5 separate regions of the Homo sapiens genome follow, and all the other regions are linked to region 5. The links are contacts of gene promoters, found by promoter capture Hi-C in human tissues and cell types (Jung and others, 2019). All regions are on one chromosome and are shown on one strand. The core of a region is centred on a gene start or on the middle of the fragment in contact, and the rest is flanking DNA. Distances in the headings are between cores, read along the strand shown. Region 1 overlaps LOC105377876 (a long non-coding RNA gene). Region 2 has its middle 150 kb from the start of TPBG. Region 3 has its middle 190 kb from the start of TPBG. Region 4 has its middle 210 kb from the start of TPBG. Region 5 holds the start of TPBG (trophoblast glycoprotein).

The links. The method cuts DNA at HindIII sites, captures the fragments that hold promoters and counts their contacts. A contact is called where the count stands out against the background at its distance.
Region 1: a fragment that was not itself captured here is called in contact with the fragment with the promoter of TPBG in region 5 in 3 of the 25 tissues and cell types used here (H1 embryonic stem cells, IMR-90 fibroblasts and lymphoblastoid cells).
Region 2: a contact is called between a fragment that was not itself captured here and the fragment with the promoter of TPBG in region 5, in 1 of the 25 tissues and cell types used here (liver).
Region 3: a fragment that was not itself captured here is called in contact with the fragment with the promoter of TPBG in region 5 in 2 of the 25 tissues and cell types used here (mesendoderm cells and neural progenitor cells).
Region 4: a contact is called between a fragment that was not itself captured here and the fragment with the promoter of TPBG in region 5, in 2 of the 25 tissues and cell types used here (hippocampus and mesendoderm cells).

Annotation. Positions count from the first base shown.
Region 1 is chr6:82,612,350-82,617,599 of GRCh38, forward strand. The region is part of intron 5 of LOC105377876 (a long non-coding RNA gene); the gene reads right to left. Among named protein-coding and RNA genes, the nearest start is that of TPBG, 250 kb to the left of the region's middle. The HindIII fragment of the contact is 8,326 bases long and covers 1-5,250 here.
Region 2 is chr6:82,506,540-82,512,221 of GRCh38, forward strand. No RefSeq gene overlaps it. Among named protein-coding and RNA genes, the nearest start is that of TPBG, 150 kb to the left of the region's middle. The HindIII fragment of the contact is 4,007 bases long and covers 1,424-5,430 here.
Region 3 is chr6:82,553,424-82,559,155 of GRCh38, forward strand. No RefSeq gene overlaps it. Among named protein-coding and RNA genes, the nearest start is that of TPBG, 190 kb to the left of the region's middle. RefSeq lists enhancers at 4,630-5,262, 5,263-5,732. The HindIII fragment of the contact is 4,446 bases long and covers 990-5,435 here.
Region 4 is chr6:82,575,722-82,581,043 of GRCh38, forward strand. No RefSeq gene overlaps it. Among named protein-coding and RNA genes, the nearest start is that of TPBG, 210 kb to the left of the region's middle. The HindIII fragment of the contact is 4,593 bases long and covers 505-5,097 here.
Region 5 is chr6:82,361,067-82,366,237 of GRCh38, forward strand. It overlaps TPBG (trophoblast glycoprotein), which reads left to right and starts at 2,751. Exons shown (of 2, transcript NM_001376922.1): 1 at 2,751-2,842; 2 at 3,557-5,171. The coding sequence starts at 3,896. The coding sequence ends at 5,158. It overlaps LOC105377875 (a long non-coding RNA gene), which reads right to left and starts at 2,591. Exons shown (of 3, transcript XR_942738.4): 1 at 2,546-2,591. RefSeq lists enhancers at 2,184-2,697, 2,698-3,209, 3,361-4,263, 4,264-5,165 and a silencer at 4,232-4,311. The HindIII fragment of the contact is 6,837 bases long and covers 1-3,755 here.

The DNA.
Region 1 (5,250 bases), core at 1,272-3,771, 250 kb after region 5:
ATAGCTCTTCCTATGAAGAGAGAATCTACTGGCATGAACTGTGGTTCTCATTGTAAATTGGCATTTAGTTTCATACATCAGTCTCTTATGAATTTGGTTATTAAATTGATCACTAAGGCTAAGTCCAAAGTCACTAAATCAAGTGAAGGAACTAAAGCAATTTGTTGCATTGCTCTGGCCAGTGAAAGAACTTTACACTATCTGCATCTGAATTATTTAGACTGTCTGTAATGATCAAATTCACCAGATTATTGCTCAACCTTCTACTGTAATTTGCATAGATAGCCTCCATGTGAACCTGTCATTGTCCCTGGAAGTGCCAGGCAGCTGCTCCATTGAAAACAATAACAGCTGTGAAGCTTAAATCACTTCATGTTTCAGTAAGATGACAACAGCATGGCATACAAGCAGCAGACTGAAAATTCTTTTCAGATAATGCTGCTGAAAACACAGAACAGAAAAAATCACACAATACAGTTGTGTGCTTTAAATTCCACAGTTAGAGAAGCCAAGGCCTCCCTCAGAGACCCTAGGTGACTCATGGTTTTATAGTGTTGTCTAGAGCATGCTACCTTAGCACACACATTGAATCCCCTAACTCTCATTCCTAAATAAAATGCAAGAGAACTAAGAAGCACTCAGTACAAGTCATAATTTCCTTCATATTCTGGTGCGAAGTCACAGTAATTAATGTATCTATAAACACTCCTTGATGAAGCCCCTCTATATTATTTTTAGTCAAATTCTCTCTTTGGCAAGTGATTACAGAATTACATAAAGTCCCAAACCCCAACAAACATATCTAGCAAAAATAAATAAATAAATAAATAAAATAAAACAAACATCCTTTGTTTCTTTGCACAGTTCCTCATTGCACCATGGTAGTATATATCACTACAAATTAGTACAACCAATCATATAAAATCAAACTCATAAAAACTCAGACTTCAGAAAGGGGGATGCTAAACTCAGAAGACTTCAGATTACCAGAAATTCAGAGAAAGTGGAAGTTGACAATTTCAACAAGTTTTCTAGCTGACCTTTAAATGATTTTGATGAAGAAAAGGGCAGGCCACTTGAGTAGGAGAAATAAATGCTCACCTATGTCAAAATATTTGGCAGGCACTGGGCTGGGCCCTCTGGCCTGAATGAATCTCAAGTCACCTGTCAGAGGACCCGCACTTCTATTACTTTTGGATTTGAAAATAAGAGACCCATGTTTAAAACCAAATATTCCAGCCAGGGCAATACCTCCCTTTGTGCCATCAGGATCCTTTTCAAAAATCTGATCTAAAACTCTTCCTCTGATCAAGAACAATAAGTGGTTTTCCTGCTTAAAAGCCACCAATTGATTTCCATTGTCTCCAGCATGAAATCCTAATATTTCTTAACATAGTCCTTCCCACTGTGGTCTTGACACATCTTTTCTTCTCTCATTTTTTAAGCTGCAATTAACAGCTATTTTTTACTACAAAAGTAATATGTGGTTATTATAGTTACATTAGAAACACAAAAAAGCATAAATATTGAAATAAAAATAAACACCCAGAGATAACCATTATTAATCATATTTAATTTTATGTCCTGACAGTTGCTTTTCGCTATATAGGTATACATTCTCTCTATGCCCTTTTCTTTCACTTTTTATTTTTTTTTCTATATCAGTTCTTTGCTCTAAGCATATTTTCATGAGTATTTTCACTCCCATTACTTAGAAATTAATTAGAAAGGGATCATAATGAAACCATTTTAGTTTACAAGTTATTAAAGATAGCTATAGGAAGATAATACATGTTATGTTAACCAACATTTTCTACTATGTTTTCTAATTTTTTCTTTCTTCCATTTATTCAGGGGTGTTTATTGCCTTTCCTAAGCACATTGTTACAGCAATATTTGGGGAGTGGGGGCTACATCAAATTCTTGATGTCTGAGCTTCCAAAACCTTAATATTTGAGGACCTTATGACATAAAGCTTATACCACAAAGTGTGGATCTAGAAGAATATGTTAGTAGAGTTTGCCCAGGACTGTCCTGGCTTAACATATTAAAGTCCCATGTCTCAAGAACACCCTTAATTCTGGCAAATTGGGACAGTGGATCAACTTAGCAAAAGCCAGCTCTTTGTGTTCCCTGTTGAGATAAATATTCTACATTCCTGTAGGGAAAGAGTCTTAGAAGGCAAGTCCTTGAGGCAGGGCTCTCCTTCTGTATTTCAGAATGCCAGCTTTGAAGGTCCAGGTCACTCTTCCCCATTCTTCCACATGCCAGTTCATAGTAATTTCCCTCTCTGCTGAACTCTTAGAGACTTTAATGACTGTGTGGTCTGAAACCACATGTCATCTCTTCCTGCCAGGTGTCAGCCCTGGATTGATAAGATGGATGGTATCCAGAGCACAGTCCGTGGCTCAAGGGATAGAAAGGAAAAAATTCTGATGATCTGCATTGTTTTTTTCCCGAGAAAAAGGAAATGAGAGAGTTAGGAAGTATGAGGAAAAGTGTGGAGGAAATCATACGTAAGAGAAATATGAAAGAGAGCTGATGAGGGACAGTGTCTACAGCTGCTGGCCCTGCTGAGGGTAGGAGACCAGGCCAGTCAACACAGCTATATCATTGTCCCCAGCCATAGCCAACAACCCACAACCAGGGACTAATGCAAGTGCCCTTGAAGTGACTTGTCATCAACTCCCCAGGGCACAGTTGAACCCCTTCATTTTACAGATGAAAACACAGAAGCCTACAAGAAAAAAAAAACTTACTCAAGATCATTTACTCAGTGGTAGAGTCAGGATAAAAGACCAAGATTCTATACTGTTTATGTTCACTAATTGTTTGAAACAATATAAATAAACATTATAGGACCTATTTTGGGGTTTACATAAGAAATATTTGAAAACCCTCAGGAACTCTGCAAGAGTTAAGGTTTTATTCTACTTACAAACTAACAAATGAGCCTGTTACTATTTCACTGATGGCTGACAAAAGGCATGAGACTCCTGGGATGGAGACAAAAGACTTTATTACTCATAGCAAAAGCAGTGACCAGAGTTTCATGGTTGCTTGCTTCAGGTCCCCATGTGCCCCAAGTTGTATGGGGCAACACAAAGGGCTCATGATGGATGCCTGCAAAGAAAATGGGTTGTATTTACAGGAAAGGAACACTGAGCTTGGGGATTTATTGTTTTTATACTAAACAGAAGCAAGCCTACCTTTGGTCTCCAGGAAAATATTACCTCATCTTTCAAGGTTAGGTTACTCACTACAAACTCAACTCTAAGAAATGTCTCGTAAAGAGCAGACGAGACCCTGTGTTCTTGGCTGGCACACCCAGAAAGAGCATGCAGGAATACTCAGAGCCCACAGAAGAAGATTGCCTCTTCCAACATCTATCATTTAAACTAAATGGAGTAACAAACCTAAGTGGTTACAAGGTATAATACTGCCCATTAGATTTCCCATTCCTTTCCAAGATTGGGAGTTAACTCACCATATTTTAGGAAATAAAATCTTTTTCAAACACTGTGGTACTTTACAAGCACTATATGGACTCCTATAGCCATTTATTTCACTGATCAGTTTTAAAATATGGCAGTTAAACAAGGGTGATATTCCAAGTATTTAACATGGACACCAGTCAATCAGAACAGAAGCTGGCTATAAACAGTGAGTATATCACACAGTTGTATCAGCTGCTAAGTTCTACTAAGACTGAACTCAGGGTTAACTTAAGATACAGGAAGTCGAACACCAAGAATCTGCTGTAGTATATAACAAATGTGCCGCATTTGCGTAGGGATAAGGCAGATATATGAATGCTTGTTAGTGATAACAGTGCTAGTCTATTTGATCTAAATAAATTGGAAGTCAGTTCAGAAAATAACTTTATGGCTCAAAAAGAAAGAAATGTCGTTATTATTTTCCCCATTTTCAAACGAATACGAGGAAACCTGCGTACAAAGACATTAACTTGTTTGGAAGGCCAGGGTAAAGTATGGCTTCAGCTAGAAGAAATTTCTAGGGAGCAACTATTAGAGAAAGGTCAAAGAATTCTTCAATTTAAAAAAAGGTAAAATAATTTTGGGTTATGTTTTTACAGTCTTGAGGAAGTATTATGAGTGACTAAAGCTCTGGGGACAACTAAGTGGCACTTAAGATGCTTCCTTTACATATTGTCAGTGGAGTCTGTCTGGCTAGTCTCTCCAGGAGGTAAGATATAATTGACAGTAAAAAGTTTCCCAAAGAAATTATGCTATTTTCACTCTCAATTGGAAGAAACGCTAAGGCTCATGCACGGCTCATAGCCACTCAATCAGCCACCTACAAATCCAGAAACATCTCAAGGAGAAAGCTCTTGCTTCTTTTTTCCTCATCCACTCAAGGAAAATAATTTTAAGATTTGTTTCTTGGGAATCAGACCCAGATACATCTTGCCTCATGGTTCTAGAACAATTCAATGAGAAGAACACAGATGACCTCATCTGGTGACTGGAAAAACTGTAGTGCAGAAATGAAGAACTGTGAGATTCACCAAATGCCAGTTGCAAGGTAGAATGAATCTGTTGAGCTGAGTTAATTCAAATTATCTGGAGAATTGTCTCATGTCTCTACCTCATAGATCTCGAACCACTGAGTCAGTAGATAGGACCAAGGAACAAAGTATGTCTCGTCTTCATTATACCCTTGCCACCACCCCATCACCAGTCCCAAAATAAAGAGAAGGCATATTTAGTTACCAAGTGACTAGCACCATGTGCTTCCCATGCTGTATCACTTTATTCCCACATTATGAGCTGGCTTATTGTTTGTGTTCTGCAAAAAAAAAAAAGCATTACAGCCAAAGAAATGGAGCAATGAAAAAAATAGAAAAAAGAAGCAAAAGAACAAATCATACTCTATGAACTCTTTAGAATCTTATAATCAGAAAAGCTGAAAGGGAACTATTTTAATTTCAGCATGGGTATTTGTTTTTCTATTTAGAAATGATTTTCTTTCAAATTACAGGTCCTAACCTGTATGGGATAGGGTGAAGACTGTAATCCTTTTATTATTTGTGGGTTCTAAGGATTTTAGCCAGCTCTGGTCATCTGCAAAGTATGGTGGTATATTAGTTTTCTGTGGCTTCCGTAAAAAATTATCACAAATTTCAAACAAATTTGTGATAATTGTGGCTTAAAACAAGAGAAATATATTCTATTACAGTTCTAGAGGCCAGAAGTCCAAAAATCAAGGTTTCAGCCGGGCTGTACTCCT
Region 2 (5,682 bases), core at 2,177-4,676, 150 kb after region 5:
TAAACCATAATCTTTCCACATAATGACAAATTTCATGTCAACTTTACTGGGCCACAGGATGCCCAGATTAAACATTATTTCTGGGTGTGTCTGTAAGGGTATTTCCAGATGACATTAGCATTTGAATTGGTGGGCCCAGTGAAGGAGATTGCCCAATGTGAGTAAACATCATCCAATTCATTCAGGACCTGAATAGAACAGAGGCAGAGAAAGGAGAAATTTGCCCCTGTTTTCTGACTCATTGCTTGAGTTGGGACATCTCATCTCATCTTCTTCCCTGGGACTGGAAGTTACACCATTGGCTCCCCTGGTTCTCAGGCCTTCAGACTCAGAACGAATTACATTACCAGATTTCCTAGGTCTGCAGCTTCTCAGGCTCCATAATTTCCTGAGCTAATTCCTCATAATAATAGTTCCAGTTTTCCCCTCCTCTCTCTCTCTCTCTACACACACACACACACACACACACACACACACACACACACACACACGGTGTCTTTAAAAGTTTATGAAAAATGCACACTATGTAAAAAGTATGCAAGGATTTCAAATTTTTATAACATTTCTGAACAGGATCTAGTTTGAGACACTAAGAAAGATAAGACATCAGTTTGAAAAGGGTCCCTATCAGAGTAACATAAATTCTGCTAAAACTGAAGCAAGAAAAAAAAAACATCAAATATATGATGCAGCTTGGGTAGAAGAATGGTGAAAGCAATAATACTTCACTAAAGTTTATGGAGACAATGCCCCAGGGAAATCAGCAGTTTACAAATGAACTACTCATTTTAAGAAGGGACGACTCAGAAAGGAAGCCACACACCCACAACCACCTGATCTTCAACAAAGTTGACAATAACAAGCAATGGGGAAAAGACTCCTTATTCAGTAAATGGTGCTGGGATAACTGGCTAGCCATATGCAGAAGATTTGAACTGGACCCATTCCTTTTGCCATATACAAAAATCAACTCAAGACAGATTAAAGACTTAAATATAAAACCTAAAACTAGAAAAACCCTAGGAAAAAACCTAGGCAATACCATTCTGGACATAGGCCTTGGCAAAGATTTTATAATGAAGACTTCAAAAGCAATTGCAACAAAAACAAATTTGACAAGTGGGGTCTCATTAAACTAAAGAACTTCTGCACAGCAAAAGGAACCATCAACAAAATAAACAGACAACCTACAGAATGGGAGAAAATACTTGCAAACTACGCATCCAACAAAAGTCTGATCTCTATAATCCAGAGGAACTTAAAACAAATTAACAAGCAAAAAAAAAACCCATTAAAAAATGGGCAAAACACATAAACAGACACTTCTCAGAAAAAGACATACAGTGACCAACATGCATTTGAAAAAATGCCCAACATCACTAATCATTAGAGAAATGCAAATCAAAACCACAATGAGATACCATTTCACACCAGTCAGAATGGCTATTACTAAAAAGTCAAAAAACAACACATGCTGGCAAGTTTGCAGAGAAAAGAGAACATTTGTACACTTCTGGTGGGAATGTACATTTGTTCAGCCATTGTAGAAAGCAGTTTGGACATTTCTTAAATAACTTAAAACAGAACTACCATTTGACCCAGCAATCTCATTACTGAGTATATATCCAAAGGAATATAAATAGTTCTACCATAGAGGCATATGCACTTGTATGTTCATCACAGCATTATTCACAATAGCAAAGACATGAAATCAACCTAGATTCCTATCAACTGGATAAAGAAAATGTGGTACATATACATCACGGAATACCACGTAACCATAAAAAAATAAAGTCATGTCTTTCACAGCAATATGGATGCAGCTGGAGGCCATTATTCTAAGTGAATTAATACAGGAACAGAAAACCAAATACTACATGTTCTCTTTTATAAGTGGGTGGGTACAAAGAAGGTAACAATAGACACGACAGACTACTTGAGGGTGAAGAGTGAAAGGAGAGTGAAGATCAAAAAATTACCTATTGTGTACTATGCTTATTGCCTGGGTGACAAAATAATCTGTACACCAAATCCCTGTAATACATAGTTTATCCATGCAACAAATCTGCATATATATCCCCTGAACCTAAAATGAAAGTTGAAAAGAAGAAGAAGGAACAAGTCGATGTTGAAGATAAAGCCTGCAATGGAAGAATATCCACGTCAATTTTCAAGGGAAAAAATTATCTTGCTCATGCCCTAATTGAAGAAGACCAACGATTAACAGTAGAAATAGCCAACACCGTAGATATCTCAATTGGTTCAGCTTACACAATTCTGACTGAAAAATTAGTTAAGCAAACTTTCAACTCAATGGGTGCAAAATTTGTTGTGCCCAGATTAACTGCAGAAAAGAGCAGAGTTTTCAATGACAATTTTAAATATGTGGGATCAAGATCCTGAAGATTTTCTTTGAGGAATTATAACAAGAGATGAAATACAGCTTTATAAGTGCAATACTGAAGACAAATCACAGTAAAAGTGATGGCTACCAAGAGGCTGAAGTGGTCGAGTCAAAGCAAAATCACACCAGTCAAGCACAAAAGTCATGGCAACAGTTTTTGGTGTGCTCAAGGCATTTTGCTTGTTGGCTTTCTGGAGGGCCAAAGAACAATAATGTCTGATTATGTGAGGGCTTTGAAACAGCCAAAGTTTTAGCAGAAAAGTGCCAGAGAGTCCTTCTTCACCATGACAATGCTCCTGCTTATTCCTCTCATCAAATAAGAGTAATTTTGTGACAGTTTCAATGAGAAATCATTAGACATCCACCTTACAGTCCTGATTTGCCTCCCTCTGACTTCTTTTTGTTTCCTTATCTTAAAAAAATCTCTAAAGGGCACCAATTTTTCTTAAGGTAATAATGTGTAAAAAAGACTGCGAATTCCCACAACTTTCAGTTCTTAAAGGATGGACTAAATGGCTGGTATCATTGCTTACAAGAGTGTCTTGAACTTGAAAGAGCTTATGTTGAGAAATAGTTTATATATTTTATCTTTTAATTCTGTTTTTCAATGAACTTTTTGAGGTGTGTGTGTGTGTGTGTGTTTCTATGCCTTTCATTTTGTTTCTCTGGAGAACCCTGACTAAATACAGTCCATTAGCTTACTGATGGATAGCAATCTTATTTCCTCTGCCCCCTGTTAATAAACAATGTTACAATGAATAACCTGGTATATATGTCCCCCTATGCACATGTGGATCTGTAGGATTAAAAGGCAAGTGCACGGCTAAACTGACAGCAAGAAGCAGAGAATGCATATGTCAGTATTAACTCTTTTCTTTTCGGGTCCCTCACTTACCTACAGAAATACATATTTTCATTTATATTGAATTGTCATGGGAAGGCAGGAAGGCTTTTCCTCCTACTGTGCCTCAAGAGAGTGCAAACTTGCATATAATTTCAAATGAACACCCCACAGCCTTCTGTTGACCTTGCAAGCATCAGGGCTGTTCACACATAGTCTGCCATCTGCCCACATCTGGCTTTGCTGCCCAACCTTAACACTTCAGTAGTGTTTTTACACCTTTTTTGAAAAAGAAAAAAGTTATGGGAGCAAATACTATAGTTTGCTGTGCTTTAGCTGGTTAAATGGAGCATAGTCTAGCAAGAAGGGTCAGATCAAATATGTTGGAAATGTGCCACTGACTTTCCTTGTGGCCACAGGAAAGTCACTTTGCCTTTTTGTTTTTCCATTTCCTCATTCATAAAATGAAAGGACTATTGTTCATCTTCCTATTAATTTAACAAATACCTAAAAGTATGAACTAAAGATATTTAATACTTTTAATTCTTATTTAGAATTGAGAGACTAGTCATGTGCATGTATATGAACTTTGACTATCAAAGGTCATTTTGCCAGTCCCAGATTCTGGAAGCAACAGTATGATTTGTGTGAGAGCAATTCCATTGCTATTCCTAACTTGAGCAGTCTTGCAAAGTATTTGAAAAAAATTCTATTTCTTTCAGTGACACTTATGCTAACCTTCAAATCTTGCTTAGGCTAGTAGTTTTTAGTCATATCTATACATATATCTTATTCTTGATAAAGACTAAAGTTGTGGCAATTTTACATATCAAACTAAGACTTTTATGGACTAAGATTATTTTCAGTTGCAGAAATAGGACCTCCTAAATACTCATTTTAAACAAGAAAAGTAAATCATTACACATTTCTAATACTTAAAACCAGAGATGGTTTCTTTAAATTTTATTAGATTTTGAGAAGACACTCTTGATTATGGAAAATAGAAAATTTCTCACCTTAGTTCTCAGAAAATTCAGTATCCATGAGTGTTTAAAAATATAAAATTTGTTATTTAATACTATTATTCCCAAATAAAGCTTAGATAGGTTCAGGCCAAATAAGTACCTAGCCTCAAGGAAGTAGCACCTAAATCATTTTGGTTATTAACACTTTAAACAAACTAGCTCATTAGATTTGCTAGCTAGGATTGGGGCACCTCTGTAACTGGAACTAGTAGAGGAGGTCCAGAACCCCCCAAACTATTTGAGAACAGCAGTAGAGATTAGGGTGTTATAAAAAGAAGGTATGCAGCAAAGAGAAGGCAGCAGGTAAAGGGGGGCCTCTGGGAAGGAGAGATGAAGACTTTAAGGAAGGGAAATGGTGCTAATGACAAATTTTGCTAACTTTTAAATTTCATTACTTTAGAGAACAGAATTCTAGGAACCACAGAGGAAGGTCTTACAGTCCAAGCACCAGAGCACCTAAGCAAGTTACATGTCTTCTGTGAAGAGCAGCTGATAAAATCTGGGAGAATGGCCCAGTCATACTGGCTATTCCACTTTGCAATCTATGAAGTCCCTAGAATAAGAATAACCCCAAAAAGAGGATAGCAGACAACAGAGATCCCAGACAATAGAAAACCATCATCTAGGCTTTATCTTTTTTGTTGCAAATATCTCTTCGATTGAACCATAAACCTTCATAAATTTAATAGATAAATCAGAACTTTGGAGGGATATGATGGCGGGGACATGTAGCTTTTCTTTGTTTGAAGTTTCACAGAATTGTTAAACTAAAATATTAGCTATTTTGAGGCATGGGTGTGTAGGAAGACTTTTTTTCTCACTCAACTCATGCATATTTTATGGTATAGATTTTTTTTATCATTTCACTAAGATTCACATTTGAAAGCATACACCTTGAGGCGGATATGGGAGTGCCATGCCACTATCTGAACTTTGTGGTTTCCTGCTCATTGTCATGTATTCAACTTTTGGAACAAGTCTGTAGTGAATGGAAAGTCTGGCGTACATGTGAATTTAAAACAATGTAAAAGCATTGAGACCAGCCTTTCACCTCTTTCCCATCCTCTTCTTTCTCTTTCTTCATCCCTTTTGATGCTTTTAAGCATAACATAAATGTATCTCATAAGGAAAATTGTATAAATCAGTTAGTGATTTTATATTTTACCCTACTAAGGGACATTTGCACTTGAGCAAGGAAAAGTGAAAAGAGTATTCCTAACTGGAAAGAAAAATCCCTAACGGGGTAGAATTTAAAGTCCACTTTTACATAGGTTGTGGGAGTCATTTTGTGGTAAATGGTAATACAAATGGTGAAAAAGTATCTCATGGCTATATTGCCCTTATAAAGTATGTGAAATTTGTTATAGGAAATAATTATTTCTTGCTAAAAGTGTAGCTATCTTTTAAGTCAG
Region 3 (5,732 bases), core at 1,963-4,462, 190 kb after region 5:
CCTTTTTCCGTTCATAAATGTTATCTGACCATGCAGCAGCCCTGGAGTCACTCTGAACCTATTCTGGTTCTGGGAACTGTCTGATTTGTGAATTATTCTTTGCTCATTTAAACTCTGTTAAATTTATCTAAAGTTTTTCTTTTAACTGAATAAATGACACTTTCTTCTAATGAGGTAAAAATACTGCTGGCATAATTATTTCTAACACAGATTTGAAATCTAGATATAAAAAGGGGCATCTTGCATTCTCAAAAAAGTTAATAACTATAAATAATAATAGCCACTATTTATTGAGCACTTACTATGTGCCAGGTACTCACCATGTGCTTTTCATGCAGTATCTCATGTAATGTTTGTTAAACAGTATTGTTGTGCTGTTTAGAGATTAGGAAATGGAGATAGAGTTCAAGTAACTGCCCATCAAATAACCCCAAATCTGTTTTAACATCAGAGTCCTCAAATATAGTCATCATGCCAAATCTTTCAAGCCCACAGCAGGGTTCTCTCCAATGCTATTGCTTTATTTCACCACCCACTGTTGTCTTATGACCATCACATAACAAGAGTAACTCCAGACTCAAAGTATCCTGCCAGCAGAAGAGCAGGATATAGTTATTTTCCTTATCTGGATGGCTTACTTCTCTTTGTGATCTTATTTTGCACTTTATACATTCCAGAACTCAGTTCATTCGCTGCATTCTTTATGGGAAAAGACAGAACATAATGGGAAAAAGCATTTCTAAGATTCTACTAAAAGATTTCTGAAACTGAAACAGATTATGTCTTTTAGCAGAAGGCTTATCTTTAAAGTTTTGTTATTATCAACCTTTAACCAGTCTCCAGATTTATAATTGCTCTATCTATAATCTAAGGAATCCCTACAGTGCTGGATTCTCAAAAGGTGAAAGTTCTAATCACCCAGGGGTCAGGGAAGACTTCAAGGAATTTAGTTTCTTTTCTCATTTCTGCCCCTTTGGCAATTCCCTTCACCTCTCCAATCTTTCTCTCCTTTGTCACTTTCTGGGATACATGAGATCTGCCAAAGAGAAGTCGAGTTACTCTATCCAGAGCCATTTTCTTTATTCACAGATTGCAGAGGAGAAATTCAAAGTTGAAAATTGTTCAGGCCCAAGAAAAATACATAAACAAGCAGCCAGTGTAGACACCAGAGGGAAAAAAAATGCTACACTTGGAAGAACTCCTTAATACCTTATTCGATAAAAATCTCCTGCCCTCCCAAACTATTCCTTTAAAACAAATGAGCCCACTCATTCCTAAATGGTGATGCTGTGGTGACCCTATACCATAGCTTTCAACCCCCAGCTGTGTAGCCAGTCTCTATTAAACCATGCCTAGTATGTGCTCCCCAAGGGAATGTCCAGATTTTCTAGAAAAACAACAGTGGCTCTAGAACCTGAGGAGCTCTTCTAAAGATGGCAATGAGGCAACTTAAGTGCTACCAAAAGAATTCCTCATTGGCCAGGCTCCATGGGGAAACATCTGAGATCTAAACACTTAAGCCATGTGGCTGTCATATGTCTTCTATGTTTTTCAGGCCACTCAGATCCCAAATCGCAAGAAGTTGAAAAACATGGGATTTTCATGTAAATTCTGTACAATTACTCATAGGTGATGTTCTGCCACACATACTTGTAGGTGTGACATAAATCTGGACTTAGGAAATATGGTTTTTAAGAGCCTGTCATTGCTGTGGATTTAGTTTTAGGGAGCTATGAAGAAACTTTAGGCTGACCCTGACAGAGTGGAAGGAACAAAAGAAGACAGCAGAGGGTATGAGAGAATCGGAGGAAGAAAAAAATTAGGAGGCAGAACAAAAGAGAAAAAAGTGAGAAGGAAGAGATGTTCAAGCCATATGTTTCTTATGGTGCGAAGGCATACATGAGGTGGAAAAGATTCCAGAAGAATTTTGCTATAAATGTAAAAATAGAATTGCCCATTTCTGGGTTAAGAATACATTTCTTCCAGGAAGAGTGTTGTGTGTTTTGTTTTATTCTTAACCTGAGTCCCTTGACCCTTAAGTGGCTCATTGTATAAGCTGTGCGGAGTTCATGAATCCCTTGAAATTACCTACAATATGTGGCATGTTCAACTCTATGCATGTGTGGCAGTCTGGTTATATCAGTTTTTCAAATAGTTTTTTTTTCTTTTGCCCAAAGGAAGTTAAAACCAGGGCACAAAAAGGAATTTATTTGTAGTTTACCTTGGATCACCAACTGAAGTTCTGAGTTCACTTAACTGTGAAAGGATTCATTACTCTATTCCTGAGAAAATTAATCCACGAATCTCAGACCTAGAAAAAATTGAAATGCTATGTGTCCCATTTATTTGCTTTCAGAAAGAACTATGGCCTAAAATAAGTGAAAATATATTCATTTTTCAACCTCTGCAGAGCAGATTGCCAAACCTTTTTTGGTAGCCTATTCATCTGTCACATTTCTCACCATAAGGAAGTTCTTCTTTATGTCAAGCCTAACTCCCTCATGCTGCAAAATAATTTGGTCTCATATGTTTAACAATGCAGCATTTTTGGACACTGTTATTATATCCATCCTCAGCTTTCTCCCAGTACTTCTGACTCTTCCATGAGTCATTCTCAAAACTATAAATCATCTTCACTGGCTTTCCTTTGAATTATTTCCCTTTTACGCTTTTCTCTAAATTCAGAAGTGAGGATACTGGAAAGAGATTGATAAAGCCCTCAGTTGATTGGTAGACTTCCCTATGGTCATTGGCTTACCACAGCCTATATGACATATAATAGTAAGTTGCCAGAAATAAGAACTATAGGATTGCCCTATGAGAGTGAAATTATAAAATTAATATAAAACATCCCAGATTAAGACAGATTTAATGGGAAAAAAATCCAGAACCAACAGGATGGTCATTTGATTAAAGATCACATACTATGAGAAAGATGGTGTTGCTCAGAAGAGGTGTTGATCAACCAGGAAAGCTTGAAAAGGGAGAATCACAGAGTTAGATCTTGGCAATGCCCACCCAAACAATATCCAGGGAAGAGGGTGTTGGTCAGGTTATTCTGACACTTGGCCACGATGGTCTCCTTGTGGAGATTGCTATAGTAGCTCTGAAATCTTGCTGTCATTACACCAACCATGGAACCCACTGGGGATTTGGCTGTCCTTGTCACTTGCCTATAGGAAGCAGAGGTGCTATTCAGACCAACATGACTTTCTGGTCTCTGGCAGTTATATTTTTCATAGAAAGTTAACAAATTGGTATTCTGTTAGCACCCAATTTGTGTCAGCCTGCTCTATATTTAATCAACTATATCATCAAAGAAAACAAATTTCTGCATCTGTAAGACAGAGTTAGACCCAGGGCAGAGGTGAATGCCACCTCCTAGAGCCTTATCATTGCTTCCTCCCTGGATGCTTTATTCAAACTTGAGTTCTTCGTACTTTTCTTTAGGCAAAAGGAAGGCTGAACAATTCCTAAAGTTTCCAGAAGTTCTAAGACTCTGTTTTCATAATATCACCAAATAGTTTCTTTTTTTTTAACACATTTAGTCAGTCCATTTTTATTTATATGTGTGCAATTTTGCATTTCTCCCACATGACTGTGCTTTATAAAAATCTAGCATTTTGTATATGCTTAATTTTTGATTCTAATCCTAATTCCAGTTCAACATGTTGGCCACTCAATCTCTCATTTTACTGTCTAGCTTGTTGTCATGGGAAAATAAATGAATAAATGAGAATGGTCTCCTTTATATCATTTGTCAACAGAAGATTGATAATATTCTTCGGTGTGGTCTGCATGGGGAAGCCAAAGTCTGATTTGTTTGAGGTGACAAGTAGTAGTCACTCTTTGGAGACTGCTGGATGGTCTGTTGTTAACCTGACATCATGCATTCCCTCCTATGTGATGTAGATGTGTAGGGAAATCCATTGCATAGAATGTTCTTTTTTGTGTGATTGCATATTAGAATTTGCCAGTGAAAACAATTGATGCAAGATTGGGAAGGCAGAGGGAAGAGAAGCCATTATGCCCAAGAACAATTGTTGCGGAGGCCAAACGTGTTGGTAAACAGGTTCCTTAGGCTTCTTCAGAGTGCCTGCTTTGCTGCTTCAGACTGCTCTGTTGGTGGAAGCTTTTCTAGAGAGTATTGGGAATTTCATCCATTTCCCCCCAAAATTTAGAGGACATACATTTTAGGTTAAGGTAACTGTTTCCCTAGCCTCTAACCTATACAGCCTCCCTAACCCTCACTCCTCAGCTCTGTCCATATCCCAGAGGCCCTAATTCCTCTGTGAAACCCCTTTAATCCTATCACACATGTCAAAGCCCAACTAATTCAGATACCAGGTAATGATGTACCTATATTTTTCCAGGTTTCTGAAGAAGTTATATGTGACAAATTCAAAAGTCTTGCAAAGTCAGGAAAGATTATATCTATTATTTTGCATTGTACCCTAGCCAGATATTTTGTTATAAAAGTTTAAACCAACAGGACTTTTTCTTTACAAATCAATGATGATAATTCCTTATATTTCAGTCCTCTTCAGGGTGCTTATTAACTGATTTTGGTATCCCTCTGAATCATACACTTTGTGATATGATTTTTATTAGCCTTGCTCTACTCCACAATCAAATACGAGAAAACTTACCTGGAGGTTAAATCCTGAAGGGAAGGTAAACATAAAGTCTATTGGTTATGATATCAAATGTTTACTTGAGTAAAAGAAAATGTTTTTTATTGAACTTTAGCATTTTCTTCCTAACATTGGCAGGTTTATACATTAATATTAGCTTCTAAACAGGTATCCAACTCAGAACTCTTCATTGATGGTCCATCCCTAGCGAAGTGTCCTTAACTCATTGGCTCTGAAGAAGAAAAAGGAATATGACACTAGCAGGCATCATGTGCATTTAAACAAAGTCACCCTTAAAGAAATGCTGTAACTCATACATGCAACTTAAAAGCAGTCACCGGAGATCGAGGAGCCAAGATGGCCGAATAGGAACAGCTCCGGTCTACAGCTCCCAGCGTGAGCGACGCAGAAGACGGGTGATTTCTGCATTTCCATCTGAGGTACCGGGTTCATCTCACTAGGGAGTGCCAGACAGTGGGGGCAGGTCACTGGGTGCATGCACCGTGCGCGAGCCGAAGCAGGGCGAGGCATTGCCTCACTTGGGAAGCGCAAGGGGTCAGGGAGTTCCCTTTCTGAGTCAAAGAAAGGGGTGACGGATGGCACATGGAAAATCGGGTCACTCCTACCCGAATACTGCGCTTTTCCGACCGGCTTAAAAAACGGTGCACCACGAGATTATATCCCACACCTGGCTCGGAGGGTCCTGCGCCCACAGAGTCTCGCTGATTGCTAGCACAGCAGTCTGAGATCAAACTGCAAGGCGGCAGCGAGGCTGGGGGAGGGGCGCCTGCCATTGCCCAGGCTTGCTTAGGTAAACAAAGCAACCTGGAAGCTCCAACTGGGTGGAGCCCACCACAGCTCAAGGAGGCCTGCCTGCCCCTGTAGGCTCCACCTCTGGGGGCAGGGCACAGACAAACAAAAAGACAGCAGTAACCTCTGCAGACTTAAATGTCCCTGTCTGACAGCTTTGAAGAGAGCAGTGGTTCTCCCAGCACGCAGCTCGAGATCTGAGAACGGGCAGACTGCCTCCTCAAGTGGGTCCCTGACCCCTGATCCCCGAGCAGCCTAACTGGGAGGCACCCCCCAGCAGGGGCACAC
Region 4 (5,322 bases), core at 1,551-4,050, 210 kb after region 5:
AAACTTCACAATGCCTGACCTACAGGATTCCCTCACTGCTCTGCACCAGTGACTGCTATGTCTTCCATTCTTCTCATAGTGTTTATTGTGACTTTCCTCCCCTTGCTCCATCATTGTGTGGTATCTTTAGAGTTCAAAAGTCACCACACCATGAAGTGCCACATCTTGACCTCCACATCAGTCTGAGATCCTAGACTTTGAGCTGAATGCGGTAGCTATAGGACTTTGAATTGTGTAGCTTGAGGAGGATGTCAGTGTGTTTTATGCATGGAAGGAAGAGTAAAACAGATATTTGGTGACCAAATGGGGGTGACATGGCAGAGAAAATGTTATGTGTTTACCAAACTTATTTTCTTTTCTTCCTGTGCATAGAGTCCAGCTGCCATCACAGTTAACACGGTCATTCAACTGAGTCCTAACCAAAGGAATGTAGGCATAATTGAAGCATATACCATATCCAGAACTTGCCCACAAAATCTATGGCACTATTTCATGTCCTCTCCCTAGCTGCTAGTTGTATGTCAACACCAGAGAAAACTTGAGAGATACACATATTTTCAATGTGTAAATTATTGACCTGAGTCCTTGGAAGATCTTATGGAGAAGAGCTCCCATCCCATACCCGCAACTGACACCTAAACCACACTGGACTAAATAAGACTGTTTACAGCAGCTTTATTTATAATACCCCAAATGGGAAGCAGCCAAGATGTTCTTCAACAAGTGAATAGATAAACAAACTGTGGTATATCCATATAAAGGAATACTATTCAGCAATAAAAAGGCATAAGCCATCAAACCATGTGAAGACATGGATGAATCTTAAATGTATATTACTGAGAGAAAGAAGCCAGCCTGAAAAGGCCAGTCTGTATCTTTCCATTTATATGACATTCTGAAAAGGGGAAAACTATACAGATGGTAAACAGATTACTGGTTTCCAGGGATTCAGGAAGGGGTGGATTAGGACAAAGTGAAATAATTAAAGCACATGGGATATTTTAGGACAGTAAAACTATTCTTTATGATATTTAATGGTGGATACATGACACAATGCATTTGAGAAAACCCATAGAATTTTAGAGTATAAAGTGTGAACCTTATTATATGCAAATTTAACAGAAATCATTTAAAGGTTGAAGGATCCCAGTATGGAATATAGACTGTGACCCCCTGCCAAAAAAAAATCTAATTTTGTTACAAAGCTATGAAATAACCTCATCAACAAGGAAAAAGGTACTAACTTAGGTGATTTTGGAAATGAGTGTGTCTATAAGACAAAAGGCAGAAGGAACTATACCTAAGCACTGTTCTATAGTTGATAAAGTTATTTCCCACAGGGATATAAGTTAGTAATTCTAAAATCAGTATATGTGGAATATAACAATTACCTAAGTAGATGTCAGGTGGTAAAAGCCAGATTTCTCACTGGTGAAATGGAAGGTCATAGATAAGCAAGGGGAGAAGTCTGGAACAATCCATGGGGTAACAGATTAGAGTTGGAGACATCAATATGAAATCATGTTTAGCTTAATATTTATATGGTTGGTAAAATATAGAAATATTTATAGATATGTGTATATAATCAGATTAGTATATACCCATATGCAGGTATTTCCTTGCTGTGCCAGCTCACAGTGCATACAAGCAATGACATTCCAATAGCATTGAGTAAAACCGGTATCCAGATACTAGTTTCTAATATCATTCTCCAATAAAATGAACCAGGGATAGCTGAAGAGAAGGCTGATTCTAGGATTGGAGCAGGAAATGTTTAAGATGAGCCTGGAATATCTATATTACCAGAACGTAGGAAATGCCCCAAAAAAACAAAAACACAAACCAATGAGATTATATTAAAAGTGCACAGAAGCCAATTAAAGGCACTCTCAATTGTCAAAGCTGGAACAATTCAACCAATAAAATAAATATAGTATTATATCACATCTCAAAGTATAAAGTAATTATCTATGAGTCCATATGTATATAAAATATTGGAATTAATAAATAAATGAGGGAGAAGAGATAAATCTCCCATGCAGAAGAATTCCAAATAATCTATGTAGAGGGATGCACAAAGTGACTTTCTTCCAAAGAGTACAATATGTAAAATGGTTTAAAAAAAAAAAGTGTGACTGTAGTGGAGAAACTTGGCAGACACTACCCTGGCCAGATAGTTAAGGTTAACATTAACAATGTTAATCATGTTGATAGTACGTATCCTTAATGGATGTGAGCGGTTTACCTCGGTATCTTCCCGCAAACCCATAACCCCAGCTTAACCATGAGAAGAACATTAGACAAATCCCAACTGAGGAGTGTTCTACAAAATTCTTGACCAGTACTCCTTAATGCTGTCAAGGTCATTAAAAACAAAGAAAGTCTGAAAAATTGGCACAACCAAGAGGAGCCTAAGGAGTCATGACAAATAAATACAATGTGGTATTCTGGATGAGAACCTGGAACAGAAAAAAGATATTAGGAAAGAACTAAAAAAACCTGAATATAGTATTGACTTTCATAAATACTAATATATCAATATCAGTTTAGTAATTGTGACAAATGTGCCATATTAACTTAAGACATTAATAATAAGGTAAATTGTCTTTGGGTATGCAGGAATTCTCTGTACTATCTTTGCAATGTCTTGTAAATAAAATCTTTTCTAAAATTTAAGATTTAATTTTTAAGCTTAAAAAAAGAAGTATAATATACTATTATGAGTATTTATTCTTTTGTTAACTTTTTCCCAAGTTAAATTAATGGGGCTGGATTAGAGGGTTTATAAGGTTACTTCTAAGATTCTATGATTCTATGATATAAAACTACCAAGAAACTTAAACAAACAAAAAAAGAACCTCTAATGATATTGGCATTAAGAGATAGTCCAGTTTCTTAACAAATAGCCCAGTAATCTTACTATTATTATTTTTCAATTCAATATCTATCCAACAATTAGAAAAAAACTAACAGTTAATTTTCATATTTTTCTCAGCAATAATCAATATGCAGTGTTTCCCAATCTTTTCTCACAAAATCACTGCTAGAGCAAAAAATCATTTTCTGATATAGAGTGTTTACTGAAAATGAACTAGCACAGCATGGGAAAGGGTGGTTGTTTTTAAGCAGGCCCATTATATTCCTCTGGAGAGCAATGGTGTACATACTCAAGTCAATTCATTAGGACATGGGGCTGATGATGAAAGCATGTAACAAAGGAACTGCTGTGGCTTCACATTAGCAAATGTGATGATCGGTGGTGGGATAACCCTTTGGGAACATCTAGTATAAGGAAGGGAAGAGAAAGAAAGAGTTTTCCATTTCTTCTCTAAGATGAGAGCTACCATTTCCTCTTGCTGTACTGTGCATAATGGGTGGAGAAGAGGCAGGGGGTGAGAACGATGAAGGTTCTCAGTCGGTGGTTGTAGGGGGATGCTGATCTGCAGCAAGAAGACACAGTGGGTGAAAAATTGCTGAGTAGTTGTATCTGACATGAAACATGTCACATATTTTATCAGTTGAATAACAACAGAGCTCAGCTTATAACTAACTTATAAAACAGGCTCTATGGCACGATGTGGGTGAAGAGGATTCAGTGCATTCACGTTTGTATCACTCTTGCTTCTGGCAGAAAGGAAGGTCTTTTATTATTATTATTCTGATTTTTTAAACTTGTGACTTTAATACCTACATCTTTTTCTTAAAATTTTCAAGAAGAGATTTAAGAAAAGCAGAGAAAAGACTGAGTTGAAATCAGAAGAACCTTGTTTGATTTATGCTTTCCGATTTTTAAAATTTCAAACAAGCAATACATGTTATTGAACACTTTTATGTTCCTGTTATATACTCTGCTCTTTGGAGATTATAAGAATGTAAAACAAGGACCTACTACTGTGAAGTAACTTGACCCCAATCTACAGCAGAGCCAGAGGAGGTAGACAAACAAGGAAAATGAGAGAACATTGAAGGACTTGCCTGTTTGGAAACATCAGAGCATTCGGAGATCAGAGATGAGCAAAGCTAACAGAAAGGAAGGCCAGTAAAAATTAAAATGTGATTTCTAACATATGTTTAAAGAATACATTTTTATTGTTTATGAGTGCTTGAGGAGAATTATGCAAAAGGACACCTTTAACAATGGGGTAAGTGTAACCTTGCCAAAAGGACCTACTTACCTGGAAGGGCATGCCAATAAGACCATGGTCAGAAAGAACACAAATTTATAAGCAGCCAATTCAAAACATTCTGACTCCAAAGGAAAGTCACAACATCCCTTGTCCTGTCTCCTCTGGGTCCCTGTCAGGTCATTCAGAGTTATCTAGGAATGGGCACCCCAAAATCTATTTTCCCTTCAGTCCTCCCATAGCATCTCAGCTACTTCCAGCTATTGCTTGTTGTTGTCAAACTATGGAAAGCTATTCCTGGATCCATTCTGGGAGCATTTGTGGAGTATTTATAAGACTAAACAGATTCTTCTTTGGCCAATATTCATCATCTCTCAGGGCTGATGTATTATTTTGCAATAAAACGAAAACAAAACCTTCTCACCAATGATAATGAAGAAGAGAAGTTAAAGGAATAAAGAAAATGTTATACTATAATACGCCTAGTACATGTAGGTTTGTGGGGCCAAAGTACTTGAAAATGGCTATCAAATAGGTATTTATTAAATGGGCTTTTATTTACTCTTCCCAAATAAACATCATATTTATGCTATTTCTTTACTTAAGAAAGAAAAGTCTTGTTCTTCTACAGAAGTAGAAGTTATTTTCAGTTTCAATTTTATCAGAATTGTCAAAAATTATTTATTAAGGGAGTCCTGATAAGTGAGATGTTACACTATTTAGATAATTTTTTTTATAACTCAGTTCTTTTGAGCCATTGCCATTGCCTTGCCTGCTTGCTGTCTGGAATATTTTCATTTCTTCAGTAAATGCTTCATAATTTAGTCCTATACTAGAAATATTTTAACAAAAGGCATTGTTTTGAGAGGATATGAAATGGTTTTCAAAACAGAAGTTTCTAAAGATTCTACTTTATGCAGATAAAATGTCCCAAATGTCATTTCCATGATGTTATAATGAATAAAATGAACTCTTACTGTTAAATATAGACTCCTAGTCCCCAGTGAAGACCTGCCTATTTGTGGCAGCACAGTGAAAGAATATGTGCATGCCCTGGGAGGTCTCAGTAACCAGGTCGGAGCTGTAACACTTGTTTCAGGTGCTCTTTTCAAAGAAAGGAGATCCTTTTCCAGAAGGGGCCCTCTCTGTATTGACAAATCATTCTGCTGGAAGGAGGCAGGGGGCCGTTTTGCAACCT
Region 5 (5,171 bases), core at 1,501-4,000:
AATAGCAGAAACAATTGAAATATTTATAAAGAGAGAGGGCATTGACTGGAAAGATACACACACCAAACCGTACTCAATTCTGCATTGAGAGCTTTTGCTTCCGTGTCTATGTCTTTCGTTTACCAGATTATCAACTGCTGTATTGCCAGATCAAATACAGGATACTCAATTAAAGTTGAATTTCAACTATAAGCAACAAAATTTTGGGTGCATTTCCCAAATATTGCATGGGACACACTTAAAAGGTATTCATTGTTTTGTTCATTAAAAGGTATTCATTGTTTTGCCAGATTTGTTAAATCTGGCAACTCTACCTTAAAGAGACTTTAAATTATTTATCCTTGTATTCCTATTACTAACATAGTTACAGAGATATAGTGGATTACAATAAATAACATGAGGGGGGTAATTTAGGAGAGAACTATCAAAACAGATGATTTTGCTAAGTATGTGACATATTTATCTCAATTTTCATGGAAATATCTTCAAATTTCATTAGTGGTCCTATTATAGAAGACACACAGCAGGCAAGTGTCAGAGCTAGAAATGACCCTAAATTTCTGGGTCCCTATTCAGCAGCCATAAGCAATTGCCAGCTGCAGGAAGGTGGAGGCAGAAGAAGTAAAAAGGGAACAAGAGGTGAGGTTTACGTTCTGCCTAAGTGGAACAGAGTAGAACTTTGCACAAACTCCTTAATCTTGCCTAGAGGCAGAATGTGGGATGTACTATATGGGAGGCAGGCAAATCTGGGCCTGGTTCCCACCTCCATCACTCATTTGAACAAGTTATGTAATTTATTTTTGCGTCAATTTTCTTGTCTGTAAAACTGGAGTGAGAGGACCTAACTTGAGTACCGAAGTGAAGAGTCAATGAGATAATATCTGTGATCAGCACAGTGCTTGGCAAGTGGAAGACACTCAGTCAAGCTAACTTAAAGCCCCAGTTTTTTCATTTGTACAACAGAACAACAACAATAATAGCAACAAGCAATAATACTAACAATATTTATCTTGCCTCTGAGTTGTCTTGAAAATCAGATGAGTATATATATTATGTTTCTAAATTCTAAAGTGTATCTCACTCTCCTAACAAAGCAGTTGGTCTTCAGATCAGGACCAGAGTTAATACCATGCCAGAGCATTATTACAGGTTTTTTCCAATGAGTAATTAATTTTATTTTTAAACTTATCATACAGTAAAATTGACTCTTTTGGTTTACAAAGTTCTATGAGTTATAACACGTTGTATAGGTTTATGTAACCACCACCACAATCCGGATACAGAACATGACTACAGCTTTAGAGATTCTTTTTCAAAGTGTTTTACATTCATGTTGCAAAACACTTTTAAAAATAAGAAAAGAGATGTAGATAAACGTGCTGAAGATGCAAATTAATGAAACCAGCTTTTGTGCACAAATCTCTGCAGTTTCCAGTGTTTTCAGCTTTTGTCTGAGCCATTTTTGCTGTCGGCTTTGCAGACTATCTCTTTCTATAAAAGTAATCAGGCGTCCGTTGGAGAGTTGGGGTCTTTCTTCACACTAAAGGCACATGTCCCAGGCACAAGCCTCAGGATCCTTATTTGATCTTTTTTAATACGACCAGGTCTTAAATTTCCGAACCATGTTTTCCCTAATTGCCATTTTCTCTCTAAAATGAAGAAGCCTGGAAGAACCTTCTTATCCCTTCGGGGAAATTATTTAATTGGGACAAAGGGGATGTGGAGTTACAGAGAGCAACGATAGGGCTTTCAGAACCCAAAACCTGTCTGGTATAATAACAGATCCTTCCGGTAACCAACCATTCAATTTGTCCCTCTCCCCAACCCCATCCTCTCCATCACCATCTGCCAGATGCCCCCTGGGACAATCGACTTTGAAACCAAACTTCTCTCCCAGGTCAGCTCCTGCAATCCCCACTCCTCATCCTTGGAGCTTTCTCCACAGAAGTGACTTGACACACCGCGCTACATCTGGGGAGGGGGGCGGGTCCGCTTTCCGGGAGACTCAAGTCTTTGCTATTTGCCTTTTGTTTCTGGGATGCCTTTGGCTGCCTTTCTCTTCCATCTGCTTTTAATTTTGGTAAGAGAAAAGCTAATGAATCAGGAATGAATCTCCTCTCCACTAATCTTTTTTTTTTCTTTCTCTCTCTCTCTCTCTTAAAGTTGGCGCGCTCTCTTCACAAGTTCCATCACTACCCAAGAAGTGAGGGGGCGGGGGGGACAGGCGGGAAGGCATTAATTACACCTAAATCTGAAGTTTGCGGCCTCAAGTACCACTTTGATGGGGAGAGCTTCTGAAGCTTCCATACAACCTGCCGTGCCTTTGCTGCTGCCGCAGTAGATTTTCAGCTCATTTCTTTCTGCTGCTGCTTCGCGCTGCTCTGTCATGCCTAAATCTATCTCGTCACTGCCAAAGGTGCCTGAATCAGGGTGAATTCCACGAGATTCACCAGCGGTTTTGCTCCAGTCCAAGGTAAATACAGTATGCAAAATGAGGAACCACCCAAGGATGTCGGGGAGGGGGGAGAGAAAGGGATTCCCTCACCTTTTCCGGCACATTCCTCGTTAATTTCCACCAGGAGGAGGCGCGCAGCCCAGCTCCCCTAGTCTCTCTTCTTAAATCCCCCTACCTACGGCTGCCGAGGTTGGCCGCGCGTCGGGAATCTCCCCGACAGTCCTGGCCCTCCCCCGCCCCCCGGGTTGGTTTTTCCCAGCTGCGGAGGTTGGGAGGTTGGGCCAGGGGCTGGGGTGCGAAGAGAGTCGGCGCCCGCAACGCGGAGCCGGGAAGTCGTCGCTACTCTGGTGGAACTCAGAGTTGGTTCTGGAGGCGGCGGACGCGGAGGTGAGCAGTGGGAGCCCGCGGCCTGGGAGAGACCCGGGAGGCGTCGTTGGGGCCCCTCCCCATCCTCGGGTGGAGAGTAGGGTTGGTTCGGGTTGCCACTGTACCCCGAGTCCCACTGCTGCTTTGTTCCCAGACTCTCCCCTCCTCTTTGGAGATGACTTGAACCCCTTTGAGATCCGAGGGGCTGGCGGGGCGCGGGCTGGGGGGCGACAGTTGTAGCTCCACTTCCTGCTAATGCGAGAAGGTACAAAAAGAGATCAAAAAGTCCTGTAACCTGAAACTTCCCTCGCATCCTAACCGGGACCTGGTGGAGAGGTCTGGGCGGGGGCGGAGACACCCGGAGGCCGACCTTCCGCCGAGGCGGTGCAGGAAGGAACGGGAGAGGGAGAAGTTTGGTAGGGAAGGAATTGGGGATTAAGCGGTAAGTTAGACGCGGGAGACGAGTCTCCTCGGGAAAGGCGGAGGGCGGGAGGCCGGTCGGGTTTATTTAGTGTGGGCCAGGGAAGAAGGAAGACTTTGCGGTCTGGGTGTCGGATGCGCGTCCCCCTCCGGAGTAAAAGTGACCGGAGGGGTTGGGGAGGCGAGGCCGGGGCGGGCTTTTGGAAGGAGGTCTCTGGGACAGACTGGAGACGACTAGACTCGAAAAGGCCGGTTTTTGCACTCCGGAAGCCGCGGCAGCCACCGCTGTTCACGCCTCTCTCCTGCTTGTCCCAGGTCCCTCAGAGGATCCAGCGAGGGGCGCCAACAAGAGGCGAAGAGGTGGCACCAGGGCGGCGGCAGGAAGAGGAGCGGGAGCAGGAGCGCGGAGCGGAGCGTCCCGACCCGCCGTGCGTACTTTCTGGAGGGAAGGGGCGGGGGAATCGGCCCCTGAGGGAAGCGCCCGGTGGCGAGGGGGTTAGCCAAGTTCCGGCTGCGGCGCCACTCCCTCGGTTCCACGAGAGGAAAGTTTTTTTTTTCCAGACGCTTCCGCCGGCTCGCGCCCTCCGGGCCCAGCCTCCCGAGCCTTCGGAGCGGGCGCCGTCCCAGCCCAGCTCCGGGGAAACGCGAGCCGCGATGCCTGGGGGGTGCTCCCGGGGCCCCGCCGCCGGGGACGGGCGTCTGCGGCTGGCGCGACTAGCGCTGGTACTCCTGGGCTGGGTCTCCTCGTCTTCTCCCACCTCCTCGGCATCCTCCTTCTCCTCCTCGGCGCCGTTCCTGGCTTCCGCCGTGTCCGCCCAGCCCCCGCTGCCGGACCAGTGCCCCGCGCTGTGCGAGTGCTCCGAGGCAGCGCGCACAGTCAAGTGCGTTAACCGCAATCTGACCGAGGTGCCCACGGACCTGCCCGCCTACGTGCGCAACCTCTTCCTTACCGGCAACCAGCTGGCCGTGCTCCCTGCCGGCGCCTTCGCCCGCCGGCCGCCGCTGGCGGAGCTGGCCGCGCTCAACCTCAGCGGCAGCCGCCTGGACGAGGTGCGCGCGGGCGCCTTCGAGCATCTGCCCAGCCTGCGCCAGCTCGACCTCAGCCACAACCCACTGGCCGACCTCAGTCCCTTCGCTTTCTCGGGCAGCAATGCCAGCGTCTCGGCCCCCAGTCCCCTTGTGGAACTGATCCTGAACCACATCGTGCCCCCTGAAGATGAGCGGCAGAACCGGAGCTTCGAGGGCATGGTGGTGGCGGCCCTGCTGGCGGGCCGTGCACTGCAGGGGCTCCGCCGCTTGGAGCTGGCCAGCAACCACTTCCTTTACCTGCCGCGGGATGTGCTGGCCCAACTGCCCAGCCTCAGGCACCTGGACTTAAGTAATAATTCGCTGGTGAGCCTGACCTACGTGTCCTTCCGCAACCTGACACATCTAGAAAGCCTCCACCTGGAGGACAATGCCCTCAAGGTCCTTCACAATGGCACCCTGGCTGAGTTGCAAGGTCTACCCCACATTAGGGTTTTCCTGGACAACAATCCCTGGGTCTGCGACTGCCACATGGCAGACATGGTGACCTGGCTCAAGGAAACAGAGGTAGTGCAGGGCAAAGACCGGCTCACCTGTGCATATCCGGAAAAAATGAGGAATCGGGTCCTCTTGGAACTCAACAGTGCTGACCTGGACTGTGACCCGATTCTTCCCCCATCCCTGCAAACCTCTTATGTCTTCCTGGGTATTGTTTTAGCCCTGATAGGCGCTATTTTCCTCCTGGTTTTGTATTTGAACCGCAAGGGGATAAAAAAGTGGATGCATAACATCAGAGATGCCTGCAGGGATCACATGGAAGGGTATCATTACAGATATGAAATCAATGCGGACCCCAGATTAACGAACCTCAGTTCTAACTCGGATGTCTGAGAAATATTAGAGG